Linked DNA regions of Homo sapiens: regions 2, 3 and 4 are each linked to region 1. The links are contacts of gene promoters, found by promoter capture Hi-C in blood cells and fetal thymus (Javierre and others, 2016). All regions are on one chromosome and are shown on one strand. The core of a region is centred on a gene start or on the middle of the fragment in contact, and the rest is flanking DNA. Distances in the headings are between cores, read along the strand shown. Region 1 holds the start of NPRL2 (NPR2 like, GATOR1 complex subunit). Region 2 overlaps DCAF1 (DDB1 and CUL4 associated factor 1). Region 3 overlaps DCAF1 (DDB1 and CUL4 associated factor 1). Region 4 holds the start of RBM15B (RNA binding motif protein 15B).

What was found. The method cuts DNA at HindIII sites, captures the fragments that hold promoters and counts their contacts. A CHiCAGO score of 5 or more calls a contact.
Region 2: a fragment that was not itself captured here is called in contact with the fragment with the promoter of NPRL2 in region 1 in 1 of 17 cell types (endothelial precursors); the score reaches 5.1 in endothelial precursors.
Region 3: a contact is called between a fragment that was not itself captured here and the fragment with the promoter of NPRL2 in region 1, in 1 of 17 cell types (endothelial precursors). The highest score is 5.8, in endothelial precursors.
Region 4: the fragment with the promoter of RBM15B here is called in contact with the fragment with the promoter of NPRL2 in region 1 in 8 of 17 cell types (erythroblasts, naive CD8 T cells, megakaryocytes and 5 more); the score reaches 12.1 in erythroblasts.

Annotation. Positions count from the first base shown.
Region 1 is chr3:50,349,459-50,352,169 of GRCh38, forward strand. It overlaps NPRL2 (NPR2 like, GATOR1 complex subunit), which reads right to left and starts at 1,317. Exons shown (of 11, transcript NM_006545.5): 1 at 1,117-1,317; 2 at 473-564; 3 at 207-375; 4 at 1-36. The coding sequence starts at 1,194. It overlaps CYB561D2 (cytochrome b561 family member D2), which reads left to right and starts at 1,404. Exons shown (of 4, transcript NM_001291284.2): 1 at 1,404-1,526; 2 at 1,951-2,102; 3 at 2,551-2,588. The coding sequence starts at 1,976. It overlaps LOC127898564 (CYB561D2-LOC101928965), which reads left to right and starts at 1,404. Exons shown (of 5, transcript NR_183066.1): 1 at 1,404-1,526; 2 at 1,951-2,102. RefSeq lists an enhancer at 1,359-1,578. The HindIII fragment of the contact is 2,178 bases long and covers 1,307-2,711 here.
Region 2 is chr3:51,427,990-51,430,700 of GRCh38, forward strand. DCAF1 (DDB1 and CUL4 associated factor 1) reads right to left here. Exons shown (of 25, transcript NM_001387579.1): 11 at 2,044-2,223; 12 at 1,272-1,481. Among named protein-coding and RNA genes, the nearest start is that of RBM15B, 38 kb to the left of the region's middle. The HindIII fragment of the contact is 709 bases long and covers 1,025-1,733 here.
Region 3 is chr3:51,407,214-51,409,924 of GRCh38, forward strand. All of the region lies in intron 23 of DCAF1 (DDB1 and CUL4 associated factor 1), which reads right to left. Among named protein-coding and RNA genes, the nearest start is that of RBM15B, 17 kb to the left of the region's middle. The HindIII fragment of the contact is 758 bases long and covers 997-1,754 here.
Region 4 is chr3:51,389,882-51,392,592 of GRCh38, forward strand. It overlaps RBM15B (RNA binding motif protein 15B), which reads left to right and starts at 1,404. Exons shown (of 1, transcript NM_013286.5): 1 at 1,404-2,711. The coding sequence starts at 1,519. RefSeq lists an enhancer at 878-927 and silencers at 1,248-1,727, 1,768-1,847, 1,958-2,017. The HindIII fragment of the contact is 3,377 bases long and covers 465-2,711 here.

The DNA.
Region 1 (2,711 bases), core at 67-2,566:
CTTGCTCTCCTCCATGGACACGAAGCTGCTCTCTAGCTAGACAGAGCATGGAAAGCATGGTGGGCACATCCCAGGACCCCTGGCTGGTTGGCTGCCCTGAGTCCTGAGCTGGTTTGCAGGGTCCCAGGTTTGGGGGACTTTGGAGACATGGGAACACCTTCCCCAACTCTGCCTGTCGGTAAACCCAAGCCCATCTCATTGCAGACCTCTAGTGTGGTCAGATAGCCAGCCAGCTTTTTAACAATGGGCTCGAGGGCGCAGGTCTTGGCCTGGGCATCACACACGAAGCCCAGGTTGAAGAGGAGAGCATTGCGGCTGTACTTCTTGTGTTCGATGCACACAGGACAGCCGATCAGCTTCTTTTCCATAGCTGTGCTGGATAATTGGAACACAGTCAGGCCCCCAAGCCTGTCCCTTCCTCCTCCTGGGACAACCCCTGCCACCCACCGCTCACCCCGAGCTAGGGTCTCACACAGTGATAAGCTTGTTCTGCAGCTCTGGCTTGGTGATGATGTACACTTGGACTGTGTCAAACAGCTCTCGGGAGATGAAGTCTTCAGGGACCTGGGGAGGGGAGTGGCAATGGGCCCCTCAGTGGACATCTGTACTGGGTGTAGTACAAATGGTGACCTCCTCATGCCCCCCAAGCCCAAGTCCTCTTCTCCAGCGTTCCCCTCTCTCCCATCCACTCAGGCCTATTACTTCTTTCTGTTTCCAAACATACGCTATGATCTCACCTCCTTCCTGGCTTCTGCATATGCTGTTCCCTCTACCTGGAACACTTTCTCCTGCCTTACCTAAACTTCCTATGCATCATTTACTCTTCACTCAGTTCAGGGATACTCATGGGTCACCCAACTCACCTTCTGTGGGACCTGGAACCCCCCAACCGGATCCCTACAGCCCGATATCCTACAAACACTGCCAATGTGACGTATGTCTTCCCTGCCACATTGGGAGCCGGGGGCCTGGGTCTGACTATCCTCTAGCCTCACAGTTGTCTGCGAATGAAGCAGCATGCCTGCGTGCAGCACGGGAAACTACTGCCTTCAGGCAGCCAGTTGAGCTCTCGAGAACGTCCCTCTTCCCGCCCAGTCCCGCGAGCCCGGGTGGCACCTGATAGGTGATCTTGGGTCCCAGCGTGGGGTGGAACTCGCTGAAGAATATGCATTCGATGCGGCAGCCGCTGCCCATGGCAATAACCGGGCCCAGGCCCGTAGCTCCTCGTTCCTCGCGCAGAGGCGTCCCCACCTCCTGTGAACACTTGTCAGAGACAGCCTCGAGGCCTGTGTCGCTGGGGCACGCAAGCTTGCCAATCCCTCTGCCCAATGGCGCCTGCGCAGCGCGACTCAGAGGCGTGGCTGGGGCGGGGGACGGCTCGTCCCAGGAAGTCCTGGGTGGGTAGACGTCGCACCCGGAAGTAAAGCGGCTCCGTGACGGAGCGGCGGTGCGCGCGGCAGGGCCCGGAGTATCCCGCTTTCTTTGGAGGAAACCACCGCATCAGATCTGCGCTGCGGCAGAGGCAGGCAAGTCCCTAGCGTGGAGGGGCAGCATGCTGGCAGCACTTGGGGAGGCGGTGCGCTAAGGGATTCACGCTGTAACTGGGACCGCAGCAGGGAACTACAATTTCCATAGTGCTCCGCGCCCTCCCAGCTGGCTCTACTGCCGGCGACGGCGTGGTACACGCTGGGATTTGTAGTCTTACATGGCTTTGCGCCTCCTACCTGGAAGGCGGGCCAGCGATTGGTACCAGTTCAGACATGGGTACACGTTGACAGGCCGCCGGCCGTCGACTGGCATGTTGTGACCATTCCTGGTGCTGGTCTTGGTACTGTTCTTTCCTACCATAACTTATTGGAAGAGGGTGGCATTCCTGCCTTGCAGCCTTTTCTCCAGTGAGGAGTGAACAGTGGGCACCTGAGATCCTGGCCCACGCTACTATGCTTTCAGGCTACAACCACTAGCACGGCTGACGATGGCCCTTTCTGCGGAGACCGAGTCACACATCTACCGAGCTCTGCGTACTGCTTCTGGCGCTGCCGCCCACCTTGTGGCCCTGGGCTTTACCATCTTTGTGGCTGTGCTTGCCAGGCCTGGCTCCAGTAAGTAGAATTCATAGCTGACTTCTGGGAAGGGAAGGGCCACTGTTCCTGGGGAGGAAGGGCAGTGGGACTTCCGGGAACAGGCCTGGCTGGTTGAGGGAATTCTGTGCTGGAGCGATGAGTGAGGTGGAGCAGGTAGGTATGGCCAGGGCACACAGAATTCCTGGTTTGTCTTTCCTTCTCTGGGTGCTCCATTTGGCTGCCTCTCAGGAGGTGTAAGGGAAGGAGGGAGGACTGCCAGAGGAGTGGCAAAGCATGGCCTCTGATCCAGGAAGAGGCCAGGAAGAGAGGATAGGTGTGGGGTCAGCTTGTTGCAGAGCAAGAAGGGGCTCACAGTTTGGCAGCACCTCCTTGGGTGATGGGCTGCTGGTATTCCTCAACCCTTAAGGATTGGTATGGCTGGTTTCTTCTTGCCTCAGCCCCATGAGGCCTCCTCTTCTCATTCCAGGCCTGTTCTCCTGGCACCCGGTGCTTATGTCTTTGGCTGTAAGTAGTGGGCCTGGGCAGTTCTTAGGGGTGGGAGCATGGGCATGGTTGGTGGCCCTGGCAGCCTCTGAATCTTTGTCCACATTTAATATCTGTTTGGAAGAGTTGCATGCTCCAACTACT
Region 2 (2,711 bases), core at 129-2,628, 1.1 Mb after region 1:
AATACCTTTCAAATTCCACAATTCTTGAGTCAAAAGCCCATATGTGAAGTAATGACCATAGATTGCTTAATCTTTTATCTTATTTATAACTAGACTCACAATATGATTTGTCCAAAAAGATAACAAAAGTTTCCTTTGTGCATATAAGTTACAGCTTAAGAGAAAGAAGCATCATGTGACTGATTTCAATTTGTGACTTTTTTTTTTCTTGAGACTGGTTCTCACTCTGTTGCCCAGACTGGAGTGCCATAGCCCGATCACGTGCGGCCTCAAACCCCCAGACTCGAGTGACTCTCCCATCTCAGCCTCCCAAGTAGCTGACACAGGTGTACCACCATGCCCTTTTTTTTTTTTTTTTTTTTGAGACAGTCTCTGCCCAGACTGGAGTGCAGTGATATGATCGTAGCTCACTGCAGTCTTGAACTCCTGGGTTCAAATGATCCTCCCACCTCTGCCTCCCAAGTAGCTAGAACTACAGATGCACACCACAGGGCCCAGCCAATTTTTAAAATTTTTGTAAAGACAGGGTCTCACTATTGTTGCCCAGGCTGGTCTCAAGAAATCTGCTGGTGATTTTTTAAAAAACATGCAGCTACTCGTCATTATCCCAAAACATATCAAATTCCACAATGATAGTGAAGTGGAGTTATAAACACATTTTCAGAAAAGAAATTCTGCACAGAAGGCAAATCATCTAGTACTTTTCATACAAAAAAGCTCTTTGCCAGGTACAGTGGCTCACACCTGTAATTCTAGCACTTTGGGAGGTCGAGGTGGGAGGACTGCTTGAGTCCAGGAGTTCCAAGACCAGCCAGGACAACATAGTGAGACCCCCATCTCCACAAAAAAATTTAAAAATTAGCTGGGTGTGGTGGTGTGTGCCTATAGTCCCCCAACTACTCAGGAGGTTGAGGTGGGAGGATCACCTGAACCTGGGAGGTTAATGTTGCAATGAGGTGTGGTCACATCACTGCACTCCAGCCTGGGTGACAGAGGGAGACGTATCTCAAAAAGAAAAAAAGAAAGCTTTTTTATACACACTTCAGTTAATCTTTTAGTTCTAGAATCCCAGCAACTTACAACTGGAAGCAAAATAATTCCCTGAAATTCACCTATTACATCCATTTTTCAATTGTTCTGCCTTCATACAGGGAAGTATACTCCAACAATGGACATAGCACAGAGTCCACTGATCTGAATGTGAGTTTCAGGACTGAGATGCTACAGAGAGGGCTAACAGAACTTTCCCTTTCAAGGCAAGGTCCTCTCACCTTGTACGGGGGTTGTGGGTGGACAAGAATGCCACCCTCAGTCCTCTGAAGTGACTGCTTCACTTGTTCCAATTTAATGGCCAGGTGAGCCTCAAAGTATTTGCGCAAGGCCATGCAGGTATGTTTCCCAGTTTGGCGGCTAGCAAATATTTCATCATCACTCAGAAGTGCACCCTGATCTTCCAAATTTAGAATCTCCAAAGTACTGATCTATTAAGATGCAAAATATTGGGGCAAAAGAGGGGAAAAGGCAAGAAGAGTTAAGTAAAAATATTTAAAAAAGGGAAAATATTTTAGTAAACTTTTTTTACTTTCCATACATATTCTGCTTATGTATCAGTAAACTTTTATGCTTAACAAGACTGACAAATATCAACGCATATTTATGTATATCTATGTATATAGCATGCTAACAGTAGCTATATGAAAGCAAAACATTAAACTCATACCAAAAAATGAACAAGCTTTTAATCATATTAAAAAATGTACAGGAATAAAACTATTGCTTTTACAAAGATCAAGATCATCAACTGCCAATCCCCGTTATAAGATTACTATATCCAAGGCAAGTCTACAACGGCACAGTGTCCTCTAACTACTAAAGAAAAAGAGAAATTTGTGAAGAAAGGGAAAAAAAAAAAACTTCACAAAAAGAATGGCAGCAAAACTCCTCTAATCAGAAGCTTCCTTTCTTCAAGGGTGTGCCGTTAAAGGGCAGCCAAGACAACCAGGACCCTCAATCCTAGGGAGAAAAGCACTGAAAGAACCTCACCAAGTTCACCAGACGACGAAGACCATCATAGCGGTCAAAGAGCTCCAAGACGGCCCGAAATGAGAAGCAAATTGAAAAAAACATGGTAGCATGGCAGCATCCTGAAGCATGAGAACACTCCATTAACCACAGGGTATAGTTCACCACATCAGACAGAACATTGTGGGGATGCATGCAAACCTGCAAAAAAATACAAATAAAACAATGCTTTTAAATTGTGGGCAAAGGAGCCCTTGAACAGGATGGAAAATTTGCCAGTATAGATATCTGCAGAATACAATGACCATCTCCAATCAAGTCACTCTTAGTACAAAGTTTAGGTAATAATACAAAGGCAATTTTAGAACACGATCCATTCCAAACCTGAAAACGACCTAAATTTAGATAAATATTTAAATACAACCTATACTTACTGAGTGCCAACAAATATTTACATCATTTAATGCTCACGAGGGCTCCATTATACAGGTATTAGGATTCTCACTTAAAAGAAGAGGAAGAGGTAAGGAACTTCTCCAAATGTGATAAAAGTGGCTCAGATTTCTGATCCTAAGTCTAGGAGTTTGGTATTCATTCTCTGGTTAATTCACACACATTTTGATGTCTACTATGGGTCAGAAAATGAAACTGTAAAGCATCCCCAGGTTTCCTTGATATTTTTTTCTCTA
Region 3 (2,711 bases), core at 126-2,625, 1.1 Mb after region 1:
CCTTTATGTAACATGTCATATTTTGCTAAATGTATAAATGCCTACTTTTTAAAAAATACTTTTTCTGTCCTTAAAGGCTATAGGTTCACTTTAGGGTCATAAATGTTTGTTTTTCTTTCCTCAATGGCAGAATCTAACTCAAGTTACATTTCAATTCTTTAAGAAAATGAGGCCTTTCAGGAATCAACACATTCAGCTCTGACCAGGTGTGTGTAATCAGTAAAGACTCTTAACATCCGCTTCTAGGCAGTGGAGAACACACAGGAAGCACAGCACACAGTGTGTCCCAGACTCCAAAATGGAGTGGAAAACAGAGAGCATTATTCCTTTGTTGAGTTTTTTATTATAAATTTAAGGTTAAGTATAATTAGCTAAAATGTATTGGCTTGTCAAAATCTAGGAGCAATGATCAATTACTTATCTTGGGTTTTGTAACTTTTCTAAAAGTCAAATCAAAGATGAATGAACTGATTTCTAAAAACACAGGCACCAGGTTGGGCGCGGTGGCTCATGCCTATAATCCCAGCACTTTGGGAGGCCGAGGTGGGCGGATCACCTGAGGTCAGGAGTTCGAGATCAGCCTGGCTAACATGGTGAAACCCCATCTCTACTAAAAATACAGAATTGGCCGGTTGTGGTGGCAGGCGCCTACAATCCCAGCTACTCAGGGAGGCTGAGGCAGATTTGCCTGAACCTGGGAGGTGGAGGTTGCAGTGAGCCAAGATCGCAACACTGCGCTCCAGCCTGGGTGACAGGGCGAGACTCCATCTCAAAAAAAAAAAAAAAAAAAAAAAAACAACCAGATACCAAACTTCTAATGGATAATAATGAGCTGTGATAGGTGACTAGCTTATCTCTGCTTTCATCAAATGCCTGAAGGCAGGCAGACTAGCAGCCTCAGGAACCAAATATTTATGGGTGTCCAATACATTGTTTAGGTTTTCATTCATCTAGATACAGCTAGCTGTACCTTTCATCCTTTCCTCTTAATCTCCAAGCTTATTTAAGCATAAGGACAAAGGACAAATATTTTATGGCATGTCAATTATATCTCGATAAAGCTCTTTATGCTGGACCATTTTATTAGATGACGGCTGACCATTCAGGCTTCTGAATTTATTTTGCTATAATGAAAAGGCAAATTCAAAGGTGTTGGTCACAGGTGCCTGTATCCCTGAGCCACATAAGTCATATCTGGAACATCTGAGAAGACCTGAGAACAGATATCTAGACTAGGACAAAACTTTGAATAGCAAATGATTCATAGGAAAATGAAAAGTCTCTAGTTTTAAAATCAGGTGAAGCGTACAAAGCAAAGTAAAACTAGAGACTGGTTTTCCTACAAAGGAAAGTGAGTTTAAAAAAAATTCAAGCTGGCACACTGTGCATGAGAGGCAGTAGGCAGAAATCTGATGGAGATAGTAAAAACAGCCAAACTCCACCACAAGATTCTAGAAGGAGCATGGATCAACAGAATTAAGGTTACAAAAGAGACCTACTCAAATAGATACGGTATTATCCCGTATCTCTAAATCAAACATCTCTAAATCAAAAATCAAAATGCCAAGGGCTTGAGGGGATAAGCAGTTCTCTAACAGAGGTCCTTCAAACATGAAATGCACCAGATGATCAATAAAAGCTGTAATATCAGTATGGAGTGAAACATGCCTAGATCCTAAGAAATCTGGAAGCCACAGTAATAACTTAGCCATGTTGCACACCTACCCTGCCACCTAGTCTTCTCTGAGCTAGAAAGCTTTCCGGCTCTTCTACAGGCTGGGCTCCAGAGCCACTCCTTAGAGCCCTCTTGACCCTGCCCCTCTCACTCTTGGCTGTCACGCTGAGGCAGCCTCTTGCTTTCCTTCCTGCATCCAAGTCAAAAGTCCTGACCACTACCATATGCCCTTCCTAATCTCTTTCTCCCTTAACTTCTCAGAAGTTAAGCAGGACAAAAGAAGAAGAATTAGTCAGTCTTTTCCCTGACCCAAGCCTTCCTGGAGAGAGTGGGATAAGAGGAGTATAACTCTTAAATTATTCCCTTATGGTGGCCTCTCGCTTCCACAGCCAGCCACCAACCTCCAGTGCCTTTGCCTCTCACCACTCCATGTCTGCAAGAATAAGGCGAACCCAGAGAATAGCCTTCCAACTCCCAAGGTGTCTAGGGCAATCTCAACTTTCCTCTGAGTTGACCTCCCCCTCAAAGACAGACACCAGGCATCACATGGACCCAGGTGATGGTTCCCAGAGAAGACTGCCGCCCACTGCCTTATTAAATGCACGGATATGGGAGGGCTGGGATAATGATGTTGACAAACAATCCAGTTTTGGCCTCAGATTTATGCTTCAACATGTAACATCCAAGAAGCCTGATTCAGAACTGATACTTGGTAGTGATGAATAAACCCACGGAGGACAAAGCAGTCGACAGCCACCCATACCATTGTAATGTACGCGCAAATGGCCTGACAACTGCACCCTCTGTATGGACTCAAGAATAAACTACATCTTGTTTCATGATAGCTAATGTGAAAAAGTAGGCATTAAGGGAGTGAGGTGTCTAAGGTAGCAAACTGAAGTGAGAATAAAAGAACAGGCAGTATTAAGAAACCCACTCAAGGCAACCACATGAAATTTGGAGGACCTAATACCAAGCTCTGCTACCCAGAAAGACTAGAAACATGTACAAGCTGTAACAGCACAGCACTCAAGAA
Region 4 (2,711 bases), core at 154-2,653, 1.0 Mb after region 1:
CAAAGAGGGAGTGGGAAGCTGCCTTTTGCCTTTGTTTACCCTAGATTAGTCTAACAGTTGAGGTCCAGGGTTTTGCTGGAGTCTGCTTCTTAAGCCACTCTCTGTGGCACTGGTGCTTAGGAAACCCAGTTGTTAGTGTGAGCTGTGGCTCAATGAAGACACCTGTAGAAACCACCTGAAAGGACGGACTAAGAACCAGTGCTTTCCAAGTAATTGGTCTTGCCTCAGATCACTTCACTTGTGTCTCCTAAGCTCAGTTTGCCTGTAGGAGGCCTTGCTGCTGTGGAACCCATTGCTTTCTTCCAAGACCTTTCCCCCTGCACCTGCCTGAGCTACTCCAGGAGCTGCTTTCTCTTTGTGCGAAGAGGGCATGACTTGGTCTGCTCTTCCCCATCGCAAGGATTCTGTGCCAGAAATTGGGTCAGGTTCTACCATGGCTCCAGCAACTGTCCTTGGAGAATGAAAGCTTCCTCAATGGGCTTGAGCACCTGGGCACCCTTTCCCTCACCTCACCTGGGGAGAAGAGGTCGTCCTGAAGGTGATGAACAGGAGGGTACTGGCCAGCGAGGGGTCAGCGTGGCAAGGTGTGATAACTGCTGGCACTATCTGTGCATATGGCCTCTTCATCCTTGGCTCTTACGGCCCTACCTTTCCAGCCTGCTATCTGCCCACAGAAGAGGGTGGGACCCAAGAGTGGCGTTAAAGAGTCTATTCCAACTCCATCAACTGCAACTGCAGGCTTGTCTCTGCTTTCGGTTATTACCTGCGTGACAGCAATTGTCCTCACGGCCTTTTCGGGGACTGCTGCAGGTGAACCTGCACGTGGAGAATGCGCAGAATGTGGGCCTTGGGTCCTGGGCAGGGTCTAAGGATAGGCATGCATTAGTCCTTGGCGCCGTCAACGCCGGATCCCAGGCAGGAGATGCCAACGAGGGTGATGTGGGGTTTGCTCAAGCCTAGTCCTAGGACTGAGGGGATACTACATAAAGAGACCACTGACTGGGTCAATGCCCCAGATCCCAACGGCCATGGAAGCTGCCACTCCTGCTCCAATCAGCGCGGGCTCCAGTGCCTGCAAGAGGAGATAGCTGGACCCAGAGCGGCAAAGCACGGCTGGGAGCACAAAGCGTTAGGTCGTCTCGCCGGCCTCTCAGGGTTCACTACACTCCGCGTAGCCTCAAGCATCGGCCATGCGGGCCGCGCGGTGGCGCCAGAGCGCGCGGCCGGTCCCACTCACCCAGCACTCACAGGGTCACCTGGCACTGGGCGACGCAGCGCGATGAGGCAGGCCCGGCGCGGGTCTTGCTCCGCCCGCCGCAGAGTCACGTGGCAGGACGGCGCACCTTGATAACGCAATGCCCGGCCCCTCGGCGCCGCTCCCGCCCCGCCCCGCCGCCACCGCCGCGCCGAGTCCTTTTGTCCAAGATGGCGGCGCCGGGGGCGCTGCCTCCTCGGCCGCCGCCTCCGCCGCCGCCGCTGTGAGAAACCTACGGGCCGCCCGCCCGCCGCGCCAGCGCCATGAAGCGGCAGAGCGAGCGAGACTCTAGCCCGAGCGGGCGCGGCTCGTCATCGTCCGCCAAGCGTCCGCGGGAGCGCGAACGGGAGGCGGAGGCGGGCGGGCGGCGGGCGGCGCACAAGGCCTCTGGCGGCGCCAAGCACCCGGTTCCAGCGCGGGCCCGCGACAAACCCCGCGGCAGCGGAAGCGGCGGGGGCGGGCATCGCGACGGCCGCGGCACCGGGGACGCGAATCACCGCGCGAGTAGCGGGCGCTCCTCGGGCTCCGGCGCTGGCGGCGGGGGACGCGGCGGCAAGGCCTCGGGGGACCCGGGCGCCTCCGGCATGTCGCCCCGCGCGTCTCCTCTGCCGCCGCCTCCGCCACCGCCTGGGGCCGAGCCCGCGTGTCCCGGCTCATCCGCGGCCGCGCCTGAGTACAAGACGTTGCTCATCAGCAGCTTGAGCCCCGCGCTGCCCGCCGAGCACCTCGAGGACCGGCTCTTCCACCAGTTCAAGCGCTTCGGCGAGATCAGCCTCCGCCTGTCGCACACGCCTGAGCTGGGCCGTGTGGCCTACGTGAATTTCCGGCACCCACAGGACGCACGCGAGGCCCGCCAGCACGCCCTGGCCCGGCAGCTGCTGCTCTACGACCGCCCGCTCAAGGTAGAGCCCGTGTACCTGCGTGGCGGCGGCGGGAGCAGTCGGCGAAGTAGCAGCAGCAGCGCCGCCGCTTCCACGCCTCCCCCAGGGCCGCCCGCGCCCGCCGACCCGCTCGGCTACCTCCCGCTACACGGAGGCTACCAGTACAAGCAGCGCTCGCTGTCCCCCGTCGCTGCCCCGCCCCTGCGGGAGCCCCGTGCCCGTCACGCCGCCGCAGCCTTCGCCCTGGATGCCGCTGCTGCCGCCGCCGTGGGACTGTCCCGGGAGCGGGCCCTGGACTACTACGGGCTGTACGACGACCGTGGGCGCCCCTATGGCTACCCAGCTGTGTGTGAGGAGGACCTGATGCCCGAGGATGACCAGCGGGCCACGCGCAACCTCTTCATTGGTAACCTGGACCACAGCGTATCTGAGGTGGAGCTGCGAAGGGCCTTCGAGAAATATGGCATCATCGAGGAGGTGGTCATCAAGAGGCCTGCCCGTGGCCAGGGCGGTGCCTATGCCTTCCTCAAGTTCCAGAACCTGGACATGGCCCATAGGGCTAAGGTGGCCATGTC